Regions from separate parts of the Homo sapiens genome. Here all the other regions are linked to region 1. Evidence: promoter capture Hi-C in 16 types of primary human blood cells and fetal thymus (Javierre and others, 2016). All regions are on one chromosome and are shown on one strand. Each heading gives the region's core, a stretch centred on a gene start or on the middle of the fragment in contact. The rest is flanking DNA. Distances are from core to core; before and after follow the strand shown. Region 1 holds the start of GNAQ (G protein subunit alpha q). Region 2 holds the start of LOC124902329 (a long non-coding RNA gene). Region 3 holds the start of LNCARSR (lncRNA regulator of Akt signaling associated with HCC and RCC).

Region 1 (4,420 bases), core at 619-3,118:
TGTCACTGTGGCTTGTATATGAACCCTGATCGCTTGATTCTGAACATCCTCCCAGAGATAATCATCAATAAATTTCTATTTGAGAAATGGCATTTTCTTGCTAACTTAGTGTTGAAGCAGAATTTTTTTTTCAAGACTAGAGGGAAATTTTTCCTGTATGCTTCCCGTTTTTCCTTCTCGCCCAGATTCCAAAGACATTAAAATGCTATCTGTTTTAAACAAAAGGTTTCTATTTGTTGCCAAGAGAGTAACTGAGAGACTGCACTGGTTTTCGGTAGTAACTATTGTGAACTGAGGCCTACATCTAGGTTGCCTCATTAAACAAAAGATACCGGTCGCTGTCAACAACCACACAGCACAACGCTCCCCTACCCTCATCTTTATCTAGAAGGAATGGTGCAGACGAGAATAACGCCTGTCACCATCCACTGGCCAACTCTTCTAGGCTCCCTCCTTTCGATGGTCTGGTGGCTAGAGAACAGCACTTGTGTGACACATTTGGGCTTGCCCTCCCGCCTCGCCCCCAGTACACAGACCCTTTCCTTGGAGGGCCAACCACTTGGCTTCCTCACCATGAGTGCTCCGGGAATCCAGCTGCGAGTCTGCCCACCGTTCCCCCATTCCCTCCTGACCCCATAGGGCACTGATAATGGATGCACACCGGCCACTCCACCGCAGGCCATCCCCCAACGTGCCCCGGCTCCGCTCGCCACCCGCTGGGCCACACACACGGCTCCCCACGCCACCACCCCATGGGGTGCCGCGGCCACGACACTGGAAGTTCAACCCCTCTGCCCACCTTTCCACCCCCGCGCCTCTGGTCGGAGTGATCTGCCATTTAGCAGATGCACAGCAGATAAGGTACAGCCCTCAGGGACACGAAAAGGAACAAGCCAAGGCACCGGGCAGGGCAGCCCCGACCCCTGTGCTGCGTGTGTGTGTCGCTGTGTGTGTGTGTGTGTGTGTGTGTGTGTGTGTCTGTGTGTAACGCGCCCGCGCGCCCGCGCGGGTGAAGGCAGTGGCCGGGGGCGCGCCCGGGAGGGTAGGGGCGAACCGCGGGCGCCGGGGGGCGGGGGCGCCGAAGGCAGCTGCCCCGCAGGGCCAAGGATGGTGGGCTGGGGGCGCAGAGGCCCGGCGGGGCCCCGGACGGTACTCACCGAGCAGCAGCAGCTTGAGCTCCCGGCGGGCGTCCCGCTTGTCCCTGCGGAGCTGCCGCTCGATCTCGTCGTTGATCCGCCGGGCTTCCTTGGCCTCCTCGCTCAGGCAGCACGCCATGATGGACTCCAGAGTCATTCTTCCAAAGTGCCTCCGCTGCAGCCCCGCCGGCACCCCCTGCTCACAGCGCGCACACACACCCTCCCGCCCTCGCTCCCCCGAGGCAGCGGTGGCCGCCGAGCCCCCGCCGCCCGGGCGCGCGTCCGGGACGAGCTCCGGGAACCGCCGCGGGGGCGGCGGCCAGGGCCGGGGCCACCAGGTGGGCCGGGGGCGCGGTGGGAGCGGATAGTCTGGGCCGACGGGAGAAGAGAGGCGGGCGCGGGAGGCGGGCGCTGGCTCGGGGGGCGCGTGAGAGAAGGCCGCCGCGCCCGGCCTCGCTCAGACGCCCGCGCCTCCTTCCCCGGGAACAGGCGGCCCGCCTCGCCCCCCGAGCCGCCGCCGCCGCCGCCGCCTGCGAGGCTCCCCTACGCCGTGCGCCTGGCGGCGAGAGCTCATTCACCGGGGTGTCCCCGCAGCGAGCGGCCGCCGACGGCTCCCCGCGCCCGGCGCGCCCGCTCCTCGCCGCCGCCTGACACGGCTCCCGGGCGCCCTCGGCCCTGTCCGCGCCCACCGCCCGGCTCGCGCGCAGACCCGGTTCCCGTCCCGCCCGGCAACCGCGCGCTCCTCCGCCTCCGCCTCCGCCCCCGCCCCCGCCAGACGCCCACCCCCTGCCCCGATTGCCAGGCGCGGAGCGGCTGCTCAGTGCGAGCCCTCCCCCTCGCCACACACACACATTTTCTTCTTTCTCTGAACTGGAGCACAGATCCGGGAGGGAGGAGGCGGCGGCGAAAGGAGGAGGAGGAAGAGGCGGAGGGGATGGGCGCGGGAGGAGGGAGCCGGGAGGCGGTGCCGCCCGGCCCCTCCTGGAAGGCTTTCCTGGGCTCGCGGCCGCCGCGGCGCGCCTCCCAGTGCGGCTCTCGCCTCGCCCGCGCGGCTCCCGGGCTGGGCCGGCCCCCGCGGGCTCTGCGGACGCCTACTGCTCCCGCACCCTCGGCAGAGTCCGCGGGCGCAGCAGTCACGGCCGCCCCCGGCCGAAGTCGGGGCCAGACCCGGCCGCCGACGCGCAGCCCGAGCCGGCGGCCGCCGTTGCGTGCCAGGGCCGCAGCCGACCTGCGGCTGCCGTCCGGCCGGGCGTGGTGAGACAGGAATATGGCGGCCTCTGCCTGCCTCAGCCCACCGGCCCGGGAGCGCGGCCGCGGCCCCTGCTGAAGTCGCGGGAGGCGGCCCCGCGGAGCCCCGCACGCGCTCCCTGCGGCGCCGGCGCTGGCGTCCGCCGCTCCCGGGCTGTGCCTGTCTGCTCCACGGGGTCGCTCCTCAGCCGTTTCTGTGTTTCCCGTTCCTATTTCTAAAACGCCATTCGGTTAGAAACTCTCACGTCACCTCTGACACCGGTGCAGTCTTAGAAAATAAGCTCCTCTATACTGTGTGGGGCTACTGGGGAAGGGAAGGGAAGGAATTGGCACCGGTGCCCAGAGGTGTAGGGGGAGATTCACAGGCGAAGCTGTTCGCAAAGTAACGTGAGATAGAAATCTAAATCCTGAACAGAGAAAGGAAGCTGCCCAAGTTTCCAAGAGCCTCCCGATAGGTTCCAACTTTTCATGCCTTTGTTTTTTTGGTGGTTGTTGGTTGTTTTTGTTTTTTTAAGTTGTTTTTGTTTTTGTTTTACAAGTTCTCTTGTTTCTGAGAAGGCACACGATGTTTAGCCGCCGAGTAATCGAATTTACTCTTCTAGACTGAGATTGAATTATGGATGACTTATGGGAAAATGTAAAATAATGTGGAATAAAAGGAAAGGAAAGAATGAAATAGAAGAGAAACTAAGGAGGCCCCAGCAAAACGGCATTCTAGTTTTTTTGATTTGCAATATGTGATTGAGGCAGTAAACTGTCGTATGCACATTTCATTGTGATCGTCTACTGATAAATAGCACACGAAAATAATCTTGTTTAATCAGGCCCAGGAGATGAAACTCATATTGCTTCCTGCCTTAAAGGAACCTGAGGTCTTCAAAGAAAATTGTCTTTTATGAAGAGAACCGCTTTTTCACGTTTCATGTGTTCTCTGAAGTGTCCCTGGTGCAACCTGCTGATCCAGAGTGTAAGGTACGGTCATGACTCTGCTTTTGCTACAGATCAAGAACTCATATAGGGTTCTTAGACAACAGGTGTGTAACTTCCTTCTTTCTTTCATTTGCCATTACTCCACCGTTTCACACACATACACACACTCTAAACCACGATTTAAATCAAGCAAGTCAAGATATAAAATATATATTTTAGGTTCTCTGTTTAAAACCTAGAAAATAATTAAATTTCACCTTGCCCTGGAGAGCAGAGAGGGCAAACCTCAACCCTTTTATGTGAATGCCTACAGAGAACAGCTAGACTTGCTATGAAATTAAAATTTAAAATCAAGTGACTAAAGAAATTAAAGATTGAAATTCAGTATGCAAAAATAGAAAGTGGCTTCAGAAGAAAAAATTTTAAGTTTGCATCCTCCGAATATATGTATGTATATGAGCTTTGGAGAGACACAGAACACTGGAAAACCAAATGACAGAAAGCTTGAAGTCTCTGGTTACCTACCCAGGGATCCTCTGAGACTTTTAAAAATGTCTTTTAAAATGAGCCATCAGGCTATCAGGTAATATGTTTTGACTGAATTGTCCTATTATTTGATGAATTCATCTGTTTCAGCGGGCTATAGAGTCAGAGTCTGTTTTGTCCCCCCTGTATCCCCCCAACATCATGAACACTCCCTGGCAACTTAGATACTTAAATGGATGCAATGAATCAATAGGAGAATGTTTCAAGTATTGGGGAGAAACCAGGAAGTAAGAAAAACCAACACTCTACAGTGATAAAGCCATATATGGGTGTCAAGAAGGAAACAGGAAAAGAAATTCCAAGTCTGAGCCCAGATCTATCCAAAAACCTTTTCATATTATCTGGAGAGCGTTTGCCAAGCAAATATTCCTAGAGACTAAGTCAAACAAATAGAACCCATGCAGAAACAACTGATAGTTGACCATGTTCTACAAGCACATACTCTAAAACATGCAACTAAACAGGGATTATGTTACAAAATCCCAGTTCATTCAGTCAACAAGCATTTATTCATTGCCTACTATGTGTAAATAACAGGTGAAGGTACAGGATAAGAGAGA
Region 2 (4,420 bases), core at 1,169-3,668, 1.6 Mb after region 1:
CTATAAATTTGATTGGAAGCTAACAGTACTGGCGTAGCCTGATGGATAGCAGATTAGAGCCCTGATTAACCATGTGATTCAAAGACTGGGAATATATTGTCTAAGCAAGATTCATCAGATGCAATCAGAATTTCAAGTGGTCAGATGAAATTCAAATGTGTGTTGTGGCTTTTCCTCCCCTATTGCTTTTCCTCCTAGGTTGCCTTTTTTTCCTTCTTTCCCCAAAGCTGAAAAATACTTCTTTGATGAATCTGCTCCTTACCCTAAAGCTGTCTGTCTGTTATTCATCAGAAAGCAGGTCGCAGTTCAGTGAGCAGAAGAAAAGATTTTAATAGAAGCTGTGCCAAGGGCTGTAATGCATCATTTTAGGGCCCTAATTACATTACAATGACAAATATCAATGGTGACAACAGCAATAACCTACATCCTTTAATGGCTGTGCTGGAAAAGGAGTTTGGGCCCCACGCCATTATATTAGACTCAGTTTCAAAACATAGGCCATTAGAAGTGTGTGTCCACAGTGTTATTGGCTGATCGCTAAAGCCCAGTGGAAAGGCCTGTAAATAAATGATGCCTCCCTAAAGCTGGGTCCTGTGGGACAAAAGAGGCGAAATTAGATGACCATGGGAGCAGCAGTGTTTCCGAGGCAACTTTAGATTTCAAAGTGAAGAATGACCTGCTTAATTTTATGAAATCACACACACACCCCACCCCCCCACTGCCAATTAGCCTGACCATGAAAATCCATTGGCATGACAACTTAAAGAAATTAAGAAGTCTTTTAAACAAAAGGAGATCTTTAACGGAAGTTTGGAAGGTTTCTGCCCTCCCGTTTCTGTTGTGTGTGTGTTAACCTATGTGATTGAATAAAAAGGCTCTTCTCCTTTTTACATTTATTTTTAAGAAAATGTAGAATTTTTTTAAAAAATAGTTGCTCAGACTTAATACAGCCTAGGTCCAAAATTTTATTTCACCAGATGAATAAGTTTCCTTAGAGTCGTTTTTATTGCCTAGATTATGTAGGCGAACTAAAGAACTCAGTTTTCTTATGTGCCCACACATTTTTCAGCCCTCCTAGCAAGGGACTATTTTATTTATGTAAACAACATAATGACGAAAATATGCTTGGCAGATGGTTCTAAGCATTAGAATCATCAGTTTGGTCTGCCCCAAAGTGTCTCATTATCTTTTATTCTCTCCCCCTCCACCTCTCCCTGCAAAAAGCTTAACAACCAAATGCATTTGAGATGCTGTACTTTCAGCCTGGTGAATGCTACTCTATTTTTATTGCTCACCCTGGAATTTCACCCCATAACCACTGTGGTATGTTCGTCCAGGTGGAGAGTGGTTTGGTGATTCCCATTGCAGCTCTTCATGGTGGCTTAAGCATTCTTAAAGGATGGCTAAATGCTCCATGGGGCCAGTGCAGTAAATTAAATCAGGTCAGCACAGTTGGGTCCTTATTCACTGCAGCTTATTGGTGCTGGGTTTTTGTCCATACTGTTAGGAATGCAGGCTGGAATGGAAAGCTTGGATTTGAAACTTCATGGTGAATTTGTGTTTTCTTTTGGCTGGTAAAGTTTTTAAGGTGCTGGCATTTAAAAGATTGCATAGCTACACAGTTAGAAGGGTTGCTGATGAAAGAAGGAAGCCTAGATTGCACAAGTAGAGTGTCACTGTCATTCTGGTAATGACTTGGCAAGAAAAGGCATTTTGGGCCTCACATAAAATGAGGAACTGACCCTGGATGGAATTTAAGAATGTCTTAGGGATAGTAATTGCTTTACATTTTCTGCCTTTCAATTCTTCTTAGCTCTCTTTCCTCCATTCCATCATTAAAATATAAACTATTTTGTATGTACGTGTATTAAAAAAAACTGTGTATTTATACATCACAAAATATACAAGGCACCATCTGAAAAATACAAATTAAGATAAACATTGGTAAAACTGTGAGTAACTTTTTAAAGAAAACATGTAGTGGTGGTTTTTCTTTTAACTTACTGTAGCATCTTATTGGTTTAAAATGTCTGTACTTATAAAAATTATTAGAGAATAGACTGTTCTTTGACATTGTTGGGACTTTTGCATATCCACAGTAAAAAAAAAAAAAAAAAAAAAAAGTTCCCAAGGATAGTTTCCAGATACATACAGATTGCTTCCTGCTAAGTGTAATAAGATTTTAGCATATCTCAACCTCTGCACACTGAAAACCTTGGTAGGACACATTTGGAAATTTTTATGGTTGAAGAAAACATTTTGTTCTCCAAGAATTTGTAAGAATCCGAATTAGCCAACTTTTTTGGGTTGTTTGGGTGCTGCTGTTTCAGAAGTTTAGGGTCTTGAGTTTAAAATCACAGCACCAATGTTTTTAAAGCAAAGGCCACAAATATAGAAATCCAATGATTTGCTAATTGATGGAGTTGAGATGTAGGAAAGAATGTATCTTTACTTATCTAAATTCTTAAGACTTAGAAGACTGCAGGTTTTATGGAAAACATTAGTATGAGCAAGGGTCCTGGTGAAGGCTGTTGAAAACTGATTTCCAGTCATGGAAATTAAATTCCATTTTATATTGCCCTGATGCTTGAAGGTTAACTTTTTAAGATGAATGCTGGTTAATAAATTGTGCTGTTAATGTGGCACTGTTGTCACTGCTTCCTTTTAATGGGCTTACTGATGAGATAGTTTTCCTCTTCCTTAGGAAATATGCCAGCCAAATTATAAAGTATGTTTTAATATCATCCTGTTAATATTTGGGGAATCTGTAACCAGCTGACTGTTCTCTTTATTGCTTTCCTTTCCCTTATTTTTTGCAGGCAGAGATTGTCAAGAGGCTGAATGCTATCTGTGCACAAGTCATTCCTTTCCTGTCCCAAGAGGTAAGGTAGTTGATTTTAGGCACTGGACTAGAAGTTGCCATTTTAGTGGTTTTGCAGAAAAGGGATTGTAGAACTGACTCTCTGGCCTTGCCAGTCTCTTGGTGTTTGTATTTTATTTTCATTTCTAAGAAACAGTGTTCTCACTCCAACTTGTATACCTTAGTAACTTTCTGTGGGATATAATTTATATGTGTTTACATAATGGAATATTTTCTAGTTGGGCTAAGCAAAATTCAGTCGTTAAAATATTTTGCTATCTTTGTCGTGTTGCTCAGAATTATGCTTGTTTGTCATAATGGTACCTAATAGGGTAGACTGAAAAATTGCCAGGAAAACAGGAGCTTACTCTGTACTATTGTCATTGGGCATTAAGAATTGGCAGAAGACATATCAAATGGAAAGACTTTTTGTAGTAAACAAACTAATGAAGCTTTTGGCTAGCTACTTTTAAACATTTACTTCTTGTTTCCTGATTAAGTCTTTATATTATTGTGCTTTTGGGAAAAGACCTGCAAGATGAACTCATTGAACTCGTTTCTCTGAGTGCCACTTTTCTCAAAATTAGGCTTTGGTGATGGTAGGCTTAGCACATTGCTAAGGCCTGGCATGCGGCTCACTAGTTCTCTTGCTCACCTACAGGGGAAGTGCATGCCATCAGCAAACAGGCACAGGTTGGAATAAAGCGATGCATTTCTAGTGCTTGTTGGCTTCCTTGTGGTTTTTTTTTCTCTCCCTGCTTACTTTTGGTAGTTACAAAGTTGAAGTGAGAATACTGGAAAAAGATAATTTTTTGCTTCTGGATTACTGAATGCCTTCATTTGCTCAGGTAAGATCCACTCTAAGAAGGAAGGAGCTAATGAAATATCTGCATGTCTTGTAGCCGCAATACTTTGTGCTGTGGGCTGAGAAGGCACAGAGGCACTTTTCTTCCTACCCTTTCAGTTGTTCTATAAGTGTGTTGTGTCACTGCTTTTCAGGAGAGAGGTTCATTCACCTGCTTGCCAGCGGGCATGTGCCAATGTTATGTGGCCAATATTTGAGCCTGCATGTGTATTATAGATATGCAGATTGCTGTATATGATTTTTTTCTTTGGTCTGGACTGGGTTAGACTTGAGTAACTATGGGTACCCTTCATAGGTATATACTGGGGAGGGGGCACTCATATTCACAAATCTTGTTGACACTCTGAATTCACATGCTCTTTTGGGTCTTGATAAACAAAGGGTATGTTGTCTTTTCTCCTCCTTTAGCTGTGACCACAAAACCTACCACCAGTCATGTCCCCATTTGCCTGTTTTTACTTAGGATTTGCTTATGGCTAGATTAGATGGCTTGGTGAATGAGAGTCAAGGGGTGTATCTGCATTTCTTTTGGAAACCTGACTGCCCCCTGCCTGATCCAGACTAGTGTGTATTTTTTACTTTAAGCAGCTCTGCTTTATGGAGATGGAGAATGGGAAGAATGTGTGACCTACAGAGCTGTAACCAGGCTGGGGTGTCATGTTCTAAGGTGACAGGGAAAAGTTCGAATTATCCCT
Region 3 (4,420 bases), core at 1,177-3,676, 1.5 Mb after region 1:
GCTCACTCACACTATTTTACAAGGATTGCTATTAAAGGAAGTCATGTGATTTACCAGAATTGTTCCGGGCTACATAATATTGAGGACAAGTCCTGAATTGAATTATAGCAGTAGGAGCCCACATAGTAGCATTAAGAATATAGTTCCTTACAGTTTAGATCATTTTATGAGACAACTAATCAATTTTCAACAAATGCGTCTGCAGCCACTTTCCCCCAAATAATCTTCATTGCAAGAGATAATTTTTTCAGAAGTATTAAAAAGGGGTAAGGAAAATATAATCAACCTCAGCAGATGATCCTAATTCAAAATCCATTCCATATGACCAACTCTGAGATGATAAAATACAACATTTTTTAGAGCAGCAAATGTTTGCATTTAGGGGAAAGGGGTTTAGAGATCATACTTACCTCCCTTAAGGATAAAACACAACATAGATGAGACCAGAAAGGTTAAAGGGGTTACCCAAAGTTAGCCAGATCATGGTAGACCGTGAATTGACCCCCAGTTCTAATGAAAATAATACTAGACTTTCCAGCCAAGCGTGGTGGCTCATGTCTGTAATACCAGAGCTTTGGGAGGCTGAGGTGGTTAGATGGCTTGAGCTCAGGAGTTAGAGACCAGCATGGGCAACATGGTGAAATCTCATCTCTACCAAAAATACAAAAAATTAGCCAGGTGTGGTGGCCTGCACCTGCAGTCCCAGCTATCTGGGAGGCTGAGATGGGAAAATCGCTTGAGCCAGGGAGGTGGAGGTTGCGGTGAGCTGAGATCACGCCACTGGACTCCAGCCTGAGCAAACAGAGTGAGACCCCATCTCAAAAAATAAATAAATAAAAATAATACTAGACTCTTATGAATTATTTTCTTGTACAAAGCAGTAAGATGTTTACTTACACTTTCCTACACCTACCCCATTCCCGCACCACTCATTTCAGAAAGGAAATGCGCAGATTTTCTCCTGTAATGTCTGCCCTATAGGCTGTTGTGATAGTTAGCAAGAGTGGGAGCCTGTGGAAAGGCACGGCAAGAGCAGCTGCATAGGTGTGAACCCTGCTGTTAGTTGAAAGTAAAAGGACTAGGGCTTCAGCACTGTGCATCTCTTTGGAACTTCCTTACTGAGCCTTCAGACACTCTGAGGTCGGAGGCTGAAGGGAGTGAGCCATGCTTCCTGCAGCCATGGTAATTCTCAGTTTCAGCCTTTGCACAGTGGCAGCTGCAACACAGTCATCTCCCTGATTCACCCTCTGCCCCCATTTTTGCAATAAAACATCTGCTTGAAAAGGAGTAAACCAGGCAGGTGAGTTGGATAGTGCTCAAATTACATACTTTAATTGAATACTCATTTGTGGAATTCAGGTTTATGCAAGGTATTAAATCAGGAGGTAGGAGACAAGAGTTCTGATCTCTGCTTCAGTACTTACAAGCCATATAACCTTGGGCAAGTGACTTATTTCTGAGCCTCAGTTGATTAATCTTTAAAGTGGGGATAATAATATCTTGTTTGCTTAAAGGCAGGGGAATGAAACAGAAGCAGCTGTTAAAGATCCCTTCTAGATTCTAGAAAATTAAAGACAATGTGAGCGTTCCTCAAGTAAGGGAGTCATTTTTAGTAGTGTATTTCTTAGATATGATCTCTGTTATAGAGTATAAATAAGTTCACAGCTCTTTTTAACTATTCAAGACAACTGTTCAGACTAGCAAGAAGTCAGGGTCTCCCTCAGCTCCATTGTTGACATAAGGTGTGCCTATAAAAGTGCTATGCAGCCTTATCTTCCTCACACACTCAGCTATTTATCCCGAAGCACCCCATTAATGCCAGGATGTCTAATCCAAAAGGAGATTTGTATCTTCAATAAAGAGTTATTTCCGAATGAGAAAGATCCATACTTCCTGCCTCTGTATTGCAGCTAGTGAATTTGGGTCACTGGTCCATTCTCCTGTTGACTTCAGCTGCGTTCTAGATAGCCCCTCCCACATACACCACTGTGTCTGCACCATAATCTCCGGGAGGGAAGAGAAAGCTTCAGTGCTCCTTCTTGCCTGCAGACTTAATTAGGGATAATCTCAAAGCATTCAAATAATGTAGCGTTTCAATAAGGACAGTTATTTTGTCCCAGAAGCCTCCTTAGTACCTATGCAAATTTGTCCACTGCACTCCCAAGCCAAGTTCCCTCCCCACAAAAAGGCAACGGGTACCTACATTCCTTTTATCCATCAAGATAAGAAGGGACATCCCAACACAAAGATAGCTTGGCAGTCTTCACCACTAAACATTGAGGCAGCTGGCAACAAACCTCTACCTAACCAGACAAGTTAAGAAATTTGTCACTCTCTTTAGCATTGATGTCCTGAATCTTTTTCAATAATGAGTTTTCTGTCCAGTTCTCTCTATCTTAACATAGATGGGAGGATGGTTTCTGAGCAAGTCAATTGCAGATCTAGAAATGGATGTGCATGTCCTTGATTCTCTATGATCATTGCTGTTCTAGCTATATATTCAATGCAGAGCTTGACATTCAAACTTGCATAGGCATCCTCTTTCCAAATTAAAATGGACCCATCACTCATTAGTGGGGGTGAGGTAGTGGCAGTACCAAAGGATGTGTGTGGGAAGGGCAGCATATGTGCTTCTGTACTCTTTATCAGCTGCCCCCAATTAAAAACAATTGATAATTCTTTAATATGACAAAGGGTACTTTCTTAATCTTAGGTCAAGTATGAACGTGGGCACCTTATACCAAGTTGATATTTGTAATGATCTTGTCACTCCCTGCTTACGAGCCTTTCTCCCTCCACAATGGCTATTATAATCAGAGTAGAAAATGAAAGCTTTTATTAGGCATAAGAAGTTCAATGTGACCAGAACCCAGTGATGTAGCCATGACCTAATCTTATATTACTCTGTGTCTAGCATGTACCAGTCTTTAAAAAATGCTCACATTCACCAACACTTCCTCAAATGAGGCTTTTGAATCCACCTGAAATTTGCTTCTCAGTGATTTTTGCTTTGGCTGACTCTTTCTAGGCATTCAGGCTTCTGCTTAAATGTCACCTCCTCCAAGAAGGCTTCTATGAACTCCCATCTGAACTAGTTCTACTACTCCTGTCACTCCTTCATATTATGCAACTGTTTGTCTATCTCCCCCCATCAGAATGTAAGCTCCAGCAAGAAAGACACTTTGCTTATGTTGTTTACTGTATCAATCGGGATCCGATCAAGAGAGAAAAACAGTAATTTCAACAAGGAAAGTTCAATATAAAAAATTATTACCTATAACAGGGAATTGGATCAAAGGGAGATTGGTAAGAGGTAAAGAGAGCTCTAAATAATACAGAAATAGAGATATAAGGAACAGCTACTTACTAACCCTAGGGCTGAGATACAGCATCTCAAAAAGAGCTCCTCCAAGACACAGACACACTCTTAGGGCTGGCTGAGATCCAGACTTTGCTGGAGAGGGCACAGTTGTAACTTTCTGAATAGCAGGAGAGCCCTGCTAGAATTCTGCCTTCTGGAACTTGCTAGAAATCCACATTCCAGAACTCGTTGGAAATCCATTCTCTGGGGTTCCAAGGAAAGCTGCTGAGGGAGGTGACTCATTAGAGGCACTTGCTCCAAAGCCACCTAAGGGGCTTCTGGAGGAAGCTGCTGGCTGCTGGGTGCTGCTGCTTGCTACCTGTGCTGTAGGAACCTGCCCAGTATGCAACCAGAGCCAGGAACCAGGAAACCAAACCCTTTCCTCCTGCAATGTCTCTCCAGCGCCTTCTATTGACCTAGCTTTTTTAACAGCTGGAAAATATTTAAAGGGCTCAGATTCAGTTTCACTAGGCAGGCAATGAGGATGAATTTGGAGCTAAGAGGCAACATATTAATAATAGCCACTTTTATTGTGAAATCCCCATATTCTGGCACATAGTAGGTTTAATAAATATTTGGTGAAGTAATAAATAAATGATTTACATCTAACCAAAGTGAAAAGCATGCTTGGCATATGTCACTTCAAGATTGGAGCTTTCAGGCCTAGCTTTTAACATGAAAGTTGCTGCCAAGTGCCTCCCACATGAAAACTCTGGAACACCCCACCTACCCCCCACTCTGTGGTAGGGATAAGACAGGCCTCCAGATAACATCATAGCTTGGCTCAACAGTTAGCGAGAAGTGCAATGAGAGAAGCACAGCAGAGAAAAGGAGAAAAAGTGGCCATGAGCCCCACTTACAGTCTGTGTTACGGCTAGGGCTGGGCCGCCAGTTGCTGCATTTGCATCTTTCTGAGACATTGAGGTGAGTTACATAGCTCTGCCACGTGGCCAAAATGTGAAACACATCCAAGGGCTATATTTTAATACAGAACTTAAAAAATAAAGAAACATCTTGACTTCTCTAGCCACTTTCCTGTTGACACAAACCATCGAGAGA

Evidence for each region. The method cuts DNA at HindIII sites, captures the fragments that hold promoters and counts their contacts. A CHiCAGO score of 5 or more calls a contact.
Region 2: a contact is called between a fragment that was not itself captured here and the fragment with the promoter of GNAQ in region 1, in 1 of 17 cell types (monocytes). The highest score is 6.4, in monocytes.
Region 3: a contact is called between a fragment that was not itself captured here and the fragment with the promoter of GNAQ in region 1, in 1 of 17 cell types (neutrophils). The highest score is 5.1, in neutrophils.

The regions. Positions count from the first base shown.
Region 1 is chr9:78,029,943-78,034,362 of GRCh38, forward strand. GNAQ (G protein subunit alpha q) reads right to left here and starts at 1,869. Exons shown (of 7, transcript NM_002072.5): 1 at 1,158-1,869. The coding sequence starts at 1,293. RefSeq lists an enhancer at 1,058-1,952. The HindIII fragment of the contact is 11,535 bases long and covers 1-3,815 here.
Region 2 is chr9:79,609,837-79,614,256 of GRCh38, forward strand. It overlaps TLE4 (TLE family member 4, transcriptional corepressor), which reads left to right. Exons shown (of 20, transcript NM_007005.6): 5 at 2,820-2,882. It overlaps LOC124902329 (a long non-coding RNA gene), which reads left to right and starts at 2,889. Exons shown (of 2, transcript XR_007061903.1): 1 at 2,889-3,708. RefSeq lists an enhancer at 1-2,006. The HindIII fragment of the contact is 1,783 bases long and covers 1,528-3,310 here.
Region 3 is chr9:79,564,261-79,568,680 of GRCh38, forward strand. LNCARSR (lncRNA regulator of Akt signaling associated with HCC and RCC) reads right to left here and starts at 3,692. Exons shown (of 3, transcript NR_184113.1): 1 at 3,372-3,692. The HindIII fragment of the contact is 808 bases long and covers 2,023-2,830 here.